3 separate regions of the Homo sapiens genome follow, and regions 2 and 3 are each linked to region 1. Evidence: promoter capture Hi-C in human tissues and cell types (Jung and others, 2019). All regions are on one chromosome and are shown on one strand. The core of a region is centred on a gene start or on the middle of the fragment in contact, and the rest is flanking DNA. Distances in the headings are between cores, read along the strand shown.

Region 1 (3,784 bases), core at 486-2,985:
CATTAGGTTGGAGGGTGAATATCACACACAATAGCCCCACTCCTTAGGGTCCCATAGCAATGAGTTGCTCCATAGCTTACTTGTCAAGACTGATGTTTCTTTCTTTTTCTTTTCTTTCTTTCTTTTTTTTTTTTTTTGAGATGGATTCTTGCTCTGTTGCCCAGGCTGGAGTGTAGTTGCACAATCTCGGCTCACTACAACCTCCGCCTCCCGGGTTCAAGGGATTCTCCTGCCTCAGCCTCCCAAGTAGCTGGGATTACAGGCGCCCACCACCACGCCCGGCTAGTTTTTTTTTTTTTTTCTGTTTAGTAGAGATGGGGTTTCACCATGTTGGCTAGGCTGGTGTCGAACTCCTGACCTCAAGTGATCCACCTGCCTAGACCTCCCAAAGTGCTGGGATTACAGGCATGAACCACCACACTGGCTAATTTTTGTATTTTTAGTAGAGATGGGGTTTCATCATGTTGGCCAGGCTGGTCTCGAACTCCTGGCCTCAAGTGATCTGCCCACCTTGGCCTCCCAAAGTGCTGTGATTACAGGCAAGAGCCACCATGCCCGGCCAAGAATAATGTTTCCTATAAGAGTTCAGGTTAAGAGGCCAGGCGCGGTGGCTCAGGCCTGTAATCCCGGCACTTTGGGAGTCCAAGGCAGGCAGATCACCTGAGTTCAGGAGTTCAAGACCAGCCTGGGCAACATGGTGAAACTCCGTCTCTGCTAAAAATACAAAAATTAGCCAGACGTGGTGGTGGGCAGCTGTAATCCCAGCTACTTGGGAGGCTGAGGCAGGAGGATCGCTTGAGCCTGAGAGGTGGAGGTTGCAGTGAGCTGAGATCCTGCCACTGCACTCCAGCCTGGGTGACAGAGGGAGACTCTGTCTCAAAAAAAAAAAGGAGTTCAGGTTAGGAAATAAAAAATGCAGGTAGCCATAAGAGATAAAAAGTTTTAGATAAAATCTTAAGGCTCTTAAATGAGGGTCCAAAAGAGACTAAAACAAGAAGTTTCAAGCTGGGTGCACTGGCAAGCACCTGTAATCCCAGCTACTGAGGCTGACATGGGAGAATTGCTTGAGCCCAGGAGTTTGAGATCAGCCTCGGCAATACAGTGAGATGCCCATCTCTAAAAAAATAAATAAACAAGTTAAAGGTTTCATCTTTGAAAAGGCTCTGGGTTAATTCCTCTATTTCTCTCTTTCTCTCTGTCTGTCCCTCTCCCCCTCTCCCTATCTGTTTTTTGAGACAGGGTCTCAATCTGTTGCCCAGGATGGAATGTGGTGGCACGATCATGGCTCAATGCAGCCTTGACCTCCTGGGATCAAGGTACCCTCCCACCTCAGCCTCTCATGTAGCTGGGACTACAGGCATGCACCACAATGCAGGGCTAATTTTTTCTCTTTTTTTATAGAGACAGGATCCCACTGTGTTGCCCAGGTTGTTCTTGAACTCCTGGGCTCAAGTGATCCACCTGCCTTGGCCACCTGCAGTGCTGGGATTAAAGGCATGATCCACTGTGCCTATCCAATTCCTCTATTTCTAGATTCTGGTATCTATACCAGAATCTCTCCCTCAGTAGTTTCCCTGCAGAGTTTTTCATCCCCAGCAAAATCCCCAAGAGGCCCTTACCTTCAACTTCTTCCCTTTAATGTTCATAAACAAGCCATGTAAGGCAGGTGCCCCAGGACCCCAACACTCACTCCGGCTGACCGCCACCTCAGTCTCACAGAGCCCAGGCTGCAGAGTGTCTCCTCAGGCAGAAACAATTCCTGTCACTCCTGGGAGGCTTGGGCAATGCTGCTTCCACCTCCCAGCTAGAGGAGGGCAGAGAGGGAGAGACAACAGGGTCAGCCAGTTGTCATGGTTATATGACCCAGGGTTCCCCAGGCATATCCTAACTTCTCTAAGGACATTTAGCAAACAAGGAGGTAGGTGGCAGAGCTGAAGGAGATCCAGGCTCAGAGGACTTAGTATTCCAGAGCCATGAAGCATCAGTTCTGTAATGTTCCTGCCCTCAATTCACAAAAATCTGCTTTCCAGAAAGAAGGTATAGGGATAGACATCATTAAACTCAAAAGCTCTAAAGTTCTATATACCTCTGCAATCTTTTGGCTCCTTTTCCATAGAGGGTCTTGTGGGAGTTTTCAATCCATTTCTCTCATCTTTTCTTATTTACTAGCAAGACTGAATGCTGAACAGTAAAATTTAAACCCACACAGAAGAGTTCATCTGAATGTATTCATCTTTGATTATGGAGATAAATTGCCCTCAGTGAAGAAGCGACAGAGCCGGGAGTTGAGTTTTTGACAATATAGCCTTTGAGTTGAGGGAGGAATTCCCACTTCTTAGAATTCAAAAAAATTTATTGAACTTTACCTGGCCTAAGATGCTACCAGAATGAAGAGTAGGAGAGCCAAGTAGATTTTTATTCTCCTGGGTCTGGATAAGCGACAGTGTTGACTAGGATTCTATCACTAATCAAGAGCACCCAGACAGCCAAGAATTAGCACCACTCAACCCTTCTTTACCCAGGACTCAAGCACAAGCCCAAGTTCTAGTTCCTGGCTTTAGATATGATGGAGGACTATGGTATAAGCCATAGCTTTCAGATTAACTAAGAAGGGCCTCTTCATGAAAACAGACAATAGGAAAACAAAACTTATTTTCTTTGTTGCTGGTGGAATTATATGTATTGTTGACTCTGTTAAGTCACACAGTGTGGGCAAGAGAAGAAAGAGGCAGGGGTGGGGAATTATGAAAGATCCTTGGTAATAAATTACGTATCTGTGATGCAATAAAGTAGGGAATGAGAAGGCAGGAAAGGGAGGAGTCAAGCAGGGAGGCTTCAAAGGAGTAATACGCTATACGTTTAATACTTATTGATCCAACCTGTGCTTTTCAAATGTAAGGCAGTAGAGAAGACAAAGTATTTAAAGAAGTGGCCTCTGCCCTCACCTCAAGGTTCAGCACAAATTATCTGTGAGGCTGTGACTGGACAGCAACCTGAGCCAAAGGGCAGTTTTCAGCCTTCAGAGTAGTGGCTTTGGGCCAGAGGGAACATAGGGCTTTGTGCCTGAAAGCTCTGCCAAATCAAATAGTCCTTTGGCTGCTTTAGCTGGGAGTGCAGAATGTGGGTGAGAGGTGAGAAGTGGTGAAAGGGCCTAGGAGAGTCCCGAGGGAAGACAGAAGTGTTAGTTTTCTAGCAGTAGCTTGCAGGGCATAGAGTTCTATCTTCTTTCCTTCTCCGTACCTACCTGCTTTCCCTACCCCTCCACCAAGTGAGAGCAGGGACCTAGGTCATCTTGCTCACAAGTGGATACCCAAAACCATGCATGGCACTCAAACATTCATTGTTGAATAAATGAATTGTCAGGCAACAATGCTCAGTTGTGAATGTGCTGGGCTGTACATCTACGAAGAACTTCTTCGATTTTTGGCATCCCTCATGAATGTGGAGGCTCTGGGGTGGAAAACATTAGTTACAAAGAAGGATTCACAGGGTGGTACCAGGACACCATTAAGGTTTACACAAACCTCTTAGAAGAGGTAGTATTTCCCAAACTCCCCACCACTCACCATTGCAGAGGACAAAAGTACCAAGATGGATACCACTGTAACATAACATACCACCATGAATTCAAGGCAGACTTACCTAGGCAGAAGCCAGCCAGCGATTGACAGGGCTACTGTAGAGCACCATCTCCATGGCAGCAGTCTAGATGAGTTCATTTCAGAGGTCCCTCTCAACCCAGAGGCTCTACATCTCAATCTTTCTCCATCCTCCTCCTCAGCCT
Region 2 (3,770 bases), core at 879-3,378, 320 kb after region 1:
GCACCCTCTTAGGAGCTTTCTTGGTTCACTCTTGCCTGTATCGCATGGCACTGAGGTTGCTGTCTTCTTTTCTTGCTCCTTCGCCTGCAAAGCCAAAGGCCAAAGCAAGGACTGCGTCTTGCTGATGATTCGGTCCTCAGCAGCCAGCACCTTCGCCGGCACGGGGTAGGTACTCAGTAGGCATTTGTTAAGTGCATGCTTGGCTCTAAGAGCTGCATTCTGCTTTTTTGGAGGATGCAGCTTGGGTGTACTAAGTGGGAGGCTGCAAGTGATGACGGAAATGTGGTTTCCTGCAGACCTGGGCAAAGGCCCTGGGGTCATTGGGGGCTCAGGGTGCTGATGTTAAAAGACCATGGTGTCCTTCTTGTTGAACCAAACTCTCAGGCTACTGTTTCCTCACTCCTCGTCAGAGACAAATGTGTTCTGAGTGACTGGAGTCATAGCTCAGAGCACCAGGAGCTGGTTTAGGGTGGGGCGAGGGGCCGTGGCCTTGGGGCTCTCGTTTCTAAAGGCCCAGGGCTCAGGGCTGGGGGGAGGGGTGAGGAGTGGCAGGTCGTGTCCCCGGGAGGCTGCAGTCACTGGGGGAGAGACAATGGGGCTCAGCATCTGCTCCTCCCTGGGAGAAGGGACCCTTCAGTGAAAAGCCAGGGAGAGCAGGGAAGTGTGGGAGGAATTGATGAGGAGAAGGGGTGGAGCCAAGGAGATGCAGCCGGGAGGAAGGAAGGGAAGGGAAGGAAGGGAAGAGGGAGGGGAGAGGATCCAGGCTTTCCTTCCTCCCGGTGACCTGGTCCTGAGCCGCAGCTTCCCTTGCATTGTTCCCTGAGTTTGCTCTCGGGGCCCACCGAGACCTCACGTTTCTCCCCCTGGCTGCAGCCCCAGTCCGAGGGCCCGGCATCCAGCAGGTGCTCAATACTTACTTGGGAAAATGACAAATGTGACCAACTTTGCTTTGGGAACTTTCCCCCGTCTTCTCCCCACTCCTCCGGAGAACCCGAGGACAGAGCAGGTCTTGGGAGCACGCCCGGGCGCCCCATGAATAATTGACCCTTCCTGGCGGCACTGCCCGGCTCTGTCCGAGGGCTCCGGACCCGCCCTGCGTTGCAGTCGAGAAACGGCTCGGAGTGGCGGGTGTTCTGGAGGTTGGAGGCCTGGTGTCCGGCCTGCGCCGGAGCTGGAGGGCGGCGAGGCTGTGCCAAACCCCGCGGCCCCTCAGGGAGCCGAGAGGGACCTGACGGCCGCGCTGCCAGCGACCACGCCTCGGCGCCCCCCAGCAGTGCGCCCCGGGGCCGAGGCCCAGGCCCTGGGCTCGGGGACCCCGCCAGCCCGCCGATCCCAGCAGCTGCCCTGAGCCCCTTCTCCACCCGGGCCCTGGCGCTCGGAGCCCGCGCCGCTCCCTCGAGTCAGGCCGTCCAGGGCTCTGCTAACAGCTGTTTAAAGGCTTTTGCTGTTCAGTGCTCTGCGGGGATGTTTGTTCCAGGCCCATCTGCCTACTTTAAAAATACATAAGTGAAGCACACACACCCAGCTTGCCACCTCTGGCTGGGGAGGGGCGGGCTCGGCGGCCCTCGCTCGCACTTGGGAAGGAACCGGCACCCAGGAGCCGCACCCGTGCCCCAACACCCGCACCGGCTCTCCTCTCCAGAGGACGCCCCTGGCTTCCCTTGGGGGGGGCGGGGCGCAGGGCCCCCGGGCCCCCTTTGTACCGGACAGGGCCGGGCCCCCCATTTCCAAGCGAGGTCTGCCTCTTCCCCGCTTCAGTTAATCTTTGTTCCCCTTTTCTGCTGAGAGGAGAAAAAAAAAAGAGAGAGAGAGAAAGAAAGAAAAGAAGGAAAAAAGGCGTGACTTGATTTTCAAACGAAACTCCCACAGCAAACAAAACCCTTTTAGAGAAATAAGAAAGGAGGAAGAAGGAAGAAAAGAGGGAAGAAAAAAACAGGAGAAAGAAAACCCTTCAGGCTTTCAATTCGAGTGGGAGAGTTGAACCGAAAGAAAGAGAAAGAAAGGAAGAAAAATCCTCTGCGGTAGAAAGAGAAAAGAAAACTTGGGCTGACAAGAGGGAGGTGTTGGGGGTGGAAGGAAGTGAGAAAACAAAAGAGAGATAAAAGGGCTGCTTTTCTGTCTCTCTCTTCCTCTGCGAGCTGGCTTAGGAGGAGCTGTTTTGCATCCCTTCACGTCAGCCCTGCCTCATTCCCTTCTTCCAGGGAGGGAGAGAGCGCGAGCGAGAGAGCGAGCGAGAGGAGGGGGGAGAGAGAGAAAGAGAGGAGCCGGAGGGAGGGCGGCAGGAGCAGGCGGCGGGCGCGCGTGGAGGCGGGCGGCGGGCGCACAGCAGCAGCCCGGGCGGTGGGCAGCCAGGAGCCCCCGGCCCGGCCCGGCCCGGCCCGCCGAGGGCCCCAGCGCAGGAGCCGCGCCCGGACCCAGGGTGAGTGTCCCGCGCGGCCCCCCGCCCCAGCCCCAGCCCCAGCCCCGCAGCCCCGCGCTGCCGGCCGGCGGGGGCGCGGGGGGCGCGGGGGTGGGTCGCTGCGGCCGCGGCCGACCCGCCCCCCGCCTCTCCCTGGGGACGGCCGCGCGCAGGCCCGCGCCGCGCTGCAAACATGTCGTCTTTTCCTTTCACTTCCACATTCCCTCATGCCGGAGAGCTGGAGGGAGAGAGGGAGAGCCGGGGAAAGAGGGAGAGATGGCGTCTGGGGTGGGGGGGAGGGAGAGGAGGGGGAGGGGGAAGGGAGAGGGAGGGAGCGAGCGAAAGAGGGCGAGAGGGAGGAGAGCGCGCGAATGAGAGAGAGAGAGAGAGAGAGAGAGAGAGAGGCAAAAATGAAAGGAAAGCGTCGCGGCGGCGGCGGCGGCGGCGCGGGAGGCCCGGGAGGCGACGGTGGCGGAGGCTCTCGGGCCCGCACGTGGGTGTCCCGGTGCTGGGTGCGCTCCCCCCACACCCGGCCCGGGACTCAAAGTTTCACCCCCTCGCCGCCCCGCCCCTACGGCTGCCCACAAACTTTATTCTCGGAGCGGGTGGGGTTGTTGCGCGTCCCAGCCGGCCGGGGGTGGGGGAGAGCTGAGCGCGCCGCTGGCGGGGCTGGGGGCGTCCCCGAGGGCCACTGGCCGCCGCACGCTGGGCGCCGCGGGATCTCCGCCGGGACAGCGTCGGGGCGCCGCGGGCCGGGGACCCAGGACCGGCGCTCGCTGTCTGGGGGCGTGGGGGTGGGGGTGGCGGGCGGGGTCCCTACGGCCCGTCTTGAGCCTCCCGCGGCTCAGCCCCCCTTCCTCCTCGTCGCCCTCTCTCCGTCTTCTCGCGGTCATTTTCCTAATTGGATGGAGCTGTGGGGCGTGAGCACCAGCGTCAGATCGGGGCCCTCAGGCTACCAGGTGGGCGCGCGGGCTCGGGGACCGACGGGGCAGCCCCAGCCTCCCCACCCTAGGCGCACAGATCCCGCAGATCCGGCCCTTGGGCCACCGCCCCCTTCACCGCGGACTTGCTAACTAGTGCGTATCGGGTTTTTTTCCAACTTGCCTTTTAAGATGACTTTTATGGGCGCTGCAACTGCTTCCCTCCAGTCTAAGCTGTAGTTTGGAAAGATTTAAGAGGCCAGGGAGGTGCTTGTGTGGATTTTAACCAACCTGAAAGGGTCATTCATGTATCTCTAGGATTTGCGAGACGGTTAGGGCAAGGCGTAGCAGTATCCGGGGTGCCTTTTCTTTTTTCTTGATATGGAGTCTTGCTCTGTCGCCCAGGCTGGAGTGCAGTGGCGCGATCTCGGCTCACTGCAGCCTCCGTCTCC
Region 3 (3,598 bases), core at 661-3,160, 340 kb after region 1:
TGCCAGCTGCTGCCAGGTGCTGAGGGAGCATTTCCTGGCTCCCTAAGCTGGTGCATTCACTTTGTTTTATGGCAGGGAACTTTTTAGGGGTAAAGGCACTTGGTACTTGGAAGATTCTGGGAGAATAACTTTTTAAAAATATTTTTCTATTCAGAAGTGCCATTGGATAGCATGTCTTTAATTAAAGGGAGGGAGAGGTGCATTTTTATTATTTGTTTCCCAGAACCACCTGTGCTGTTTTTCAAAGTAGGGTATTGACTGCTTCCTCCTTGCTGATGAGAAATGCTGTATGGAGAACAAAGCTGAAAGTGTTGGCCATATATAATACAAGGCTGTAATTTACAGGCTATAGCTTCACCAGGGGAAGAATTTGATGTCTTTAAGAGATACAAAATCATCCAGCTCCGGCTGTCCTTGTGTGTGGTGCCATATTTATTTTCTAACTTGGAGTCATCATTCTTTAAGAAAGAAGCAGGGTCCTTTTGGGCTGAGGAATGCTCTCGGGGGTAGGAAGTTTTCGGGATCTGTGGGCCTGAGCTGGCATGTCCAACATCCTGTCACTATACTGCTTGGCATCTTGCAAGGGATGCATCCTAATGACCCATCCTGTCCACTTTTGTTTGGTTACTTGGTGAAGGTGGGAGTGTCTTGAACAGCATGGTGCTGTTCCCCTGGAAAGTTTATACTCATCAGTGCCCAGTTGTTTGCAGAATTCGAGAATGGATGGGAAGCACCCAGGAAACGGTTCCCAAATGGATGCATTTTGATATCTGAAATAGACTTTAAAGCTTTTGGCTTTTGATCATAAAGGGACCGGCAACATTGAGACACCTCCCCACTGCTCCTCAGGTTTTCCTGGTGCTTGAATAATTAAGGCCATGCCCTATGGAATCTCCTTCCTTGGGCTCCAGGGCATCTCTCTTAGCAAAGGCTAGCTTCTCACTCACAGTGTGCTGTGAGCGCTCTGGACGTCCTACCCAGCATTCTGCTCCATCATCTTCTTGTGTTCTGTCTCCCCCAGAAAAACTTCTGTGTAACATCAGCTGTGTTCTTTTGCTTCAATTACAGAGCTTGTTAGAATTTCTCTTCCAAATCCCTGTTTTGGGGCTTTTCTTTTCTTTTTTCTTTTTTTTTTTTTTTTGAAATGGAGTCTTGCTCTGTCACCCAGACTGGAGGACAGTGGCGTGATCTCGACTCACTGCAACCTCCGCCTCCCGGATTCAAGCAGTTCACCTGCCTCAGCTTCCTGAATAGCTGGGATCACAGGCGTGTGCCACCACACCCAGCTACTTTTTGTATTTTTAGTAGAGCCGGGGTTTCACCATGTTGGCAGGCTGGTCTTGAACTCCTGACTTCAGGTGATCCGCCTACCGTGGCCTCCCAAAGTGCTGAGATTACAGGCGTGAGCCACCGCGCCCAGCTGGGGTTTTCCTACCGTGGTTGTAAAAATTCATTTCTTGTCGCCACCTAGATTAACAAATCTCAGATTAAGAACTGGCCTTTTTTCGCCTCCTCTTTGAATTCACTGTCTAAAGAAACGGCCATTGCCCTTTCCGTAAACCAGGACAGAGGTCATGTCTGCTTTGCCTTTTTGCACCTTGGCCCCTGCCTGCCCCTCACCTCCCCACTCAGCTACAGTGACTGGAAGGGCCCACACAGGAAAGCTGGGCCCTGGGTCTTCATGGACGTTGCTGGAGGATGTGTCTCCCTGCTGGTGGCTCTCAGTCTTCCTGTGCTCAGTAGGGCCTTCTGGAGGATTCTAATTTCCCTGTCCTGGAAACCACCTTGAAAATATTCTTAAATATTCTTAGGTGGATTTAAGATGTCTCTGTCTAGTGGTTTTTTGTTTGTTTGTTTGTTTTTTAATCCATCTTAGATTTGAATGCCCAAGGAATGAACAGTCTCTTGGATCTTGTATCTCTTCCTTTTGTTTTTTAGAAAATAGCTTTTATTGATTTTTTTTTCTTGCTACAAAGAGGTTGATGATTATTGCAGAAAATTTAGGGACTATAAGTAGGCAAAAAAGATAAAAACCACCTATAATTATTAATATTTTAGTATATTGTATAGCCCCCCCAGAATATTTTTCAATTTCAAAAGATGAGATCATACTGTTTGTACCATCTTATTACTTTTTCTTTCTTTTTTTTTTTTTTTTTTTTTTGCTTTTACTTTACAACATGTGATTAAAATTTCCATCAGGTTAAGCAGCCTCCGTCAAGTCACTTTAAAGGGTTGTATAGTTCTTTTGAACAGATGGACTATCATTTATTTAACCAATCTCCTACATTTAGCTTGTTTCCTCTGTTTCTGTCTTGTAAAGAATGCTGTGGTAAACATCCTTGGGTATATTTGCCCACAGACTTGGTTATTTCCTTGGGATACATCTCCAGAAGAGAATCACTGGGCCAAGGACACATTCTAAAGGCTGTTCGTCTAGATGGGTAAATTGCCCCCAGACACATTGTATCATATTTGGATTCTGTTTAGCCAAATACTAACTCCCATTCTTTTAAACATGGTTGTGAGTCTTTCAGACCTCTGTTTCCTAATGTTTCTCACGGGTCATACAGGTTGGCTGAGAGTAAATGGCAAGGAAGGGCCTGAGAGACTCCGGGCACAGCTGACCTAGGAAAGGGAGTCTGTCATCCTGGCCCGTCGCTTTACAATGGGAGTGCGAGGGCTGGGCCCAGAGACCCTGTCTTGCCTCCCATGACCCCAGGAAGCTGCAGGCCTGTGGCTCCCCAGGGTAACCTTCTCTGGTGCCAGCCGTTAGGGTGCCCGGGACAGAGAGCTGGCTTTGAGGATTCCAGAGTCTGTCAGAGAACTTAGGCTGGTCTTTCTTCCAAGAGAATGCTCCTAAACAAACATCCTGCCCTAATCCAGAGACTAGGTTGGTGCTTATTGGGGGGCGGTGAGTGGGGGAGCCGAGGATTTCCTGTGGAGGCCTCAGACTCTAGCCCAGGAGTCCAGGCCAAGGAAGTGCCTCTGCCCAGACTTTCAGCCCCTTGAAGCCCAGTTCTTCGTCATCACTTGGTGTGGGGAACAGAGGGAAGTTTGATGGAATTACTGAGGAAGTAGCATTTACGTGGTCTAAATCGGACCTTCCTGTTCCCACTGCTGACCGGCTCTTCCTCCTTTTCCGCTGTCTTCCTCCTGCGTGACAGCGCATTCTTCATGGGGCCTCTGGGGCCCTTCCTGTGGGCTGAGCTTCTTTCTTCCCTTTTCTCTCCTGCCGGGACCTAGACTGGTGCCCACCTTCAGGACTGGGCACATCCAGGCACCTCACAGCCCCTTCCCTCCTCCAGCTCTGCTACCAACGCCCCTGCACCCTTCCGTCCAGGCAGGGCTGTCCCAGCTGAGGCCCAAGCCCAGCCCACCCTTTCTTCTCAGTTCTGCCAAGAAGGCCATGGGGGCTGGTGGAGGCCCGAACTGCCTCCCCGCCCCCGGGGAGACACAGCATGCCAGCTGCTGCCGGGATGGGTTACAAAAAACAAAAACACAAACCCCAGCCCCTTGAGATGAGGGACGTTTCGGTTTCTGTGAACCTGACGCCTCATGTGTGTTGGAAATGAGAGGCGCAGTTTGGGAGAAGGAG

The links. Contacts are between HindIII fragments. The study calls those that stand out against the background at their distance.
Region 2: the fragment with the promoter of ZNF710 here is called in contact with the fragment with the promoter of PLIN1 in region 1 in 2 of the 25 tissues and cell types used here (mesendoderm cells and thymus).
Region 3: a fragment that was not itself captured here is called in contact with the fragment with the promoter of PLIN1 in region 1 in 1 of the 25 tissues and cell types used here (mesendoderm cells).

The regions. Positions count from the first base shown.
Region 1 is chr15:89,677,632-89,681,415 of GRCh38, forward strand. It overlaps PLIN1 (perilipin 1), which reads right to left and starts at 1,736. Exons shown (of 9, transcript NM_002666.5): 1 at 1,620-1,736. The HindIII fragment of the contact is 12,360 bases long and covers 1-3,784 here.
Region 2 is chr15:89,999,196-90,002,965 of GRCh38, forward strand. ZNF710 (zinc finger protein 710) reads left to right here and starts at 2,129. Exons shown (of 5, transcript NM_198526.4): 1 at 2,129-2,419. RefSeq lists silencers at 1,581-1,750, 2,159-2,327, 2,743-3,242 and enhancers at 2,942-3,710, 3,711-3,770. The HindIII fragment of the contact is 12,330 bases long and covers 1-3,770 here.
Region 3 is chr15:90,017,046-90,020,643 of GRCh38, forward strand. All of the region lies in intron 1 of ZNF710 (zinc finger protein 710), which reads left to right. Among named protein-coding and RNA genes, the nearest start is that of MIR3174, 12 kb to the left of the region's middle. The HindIII fragment of the contact is 6,651 bases long and covers 1-3,598 here.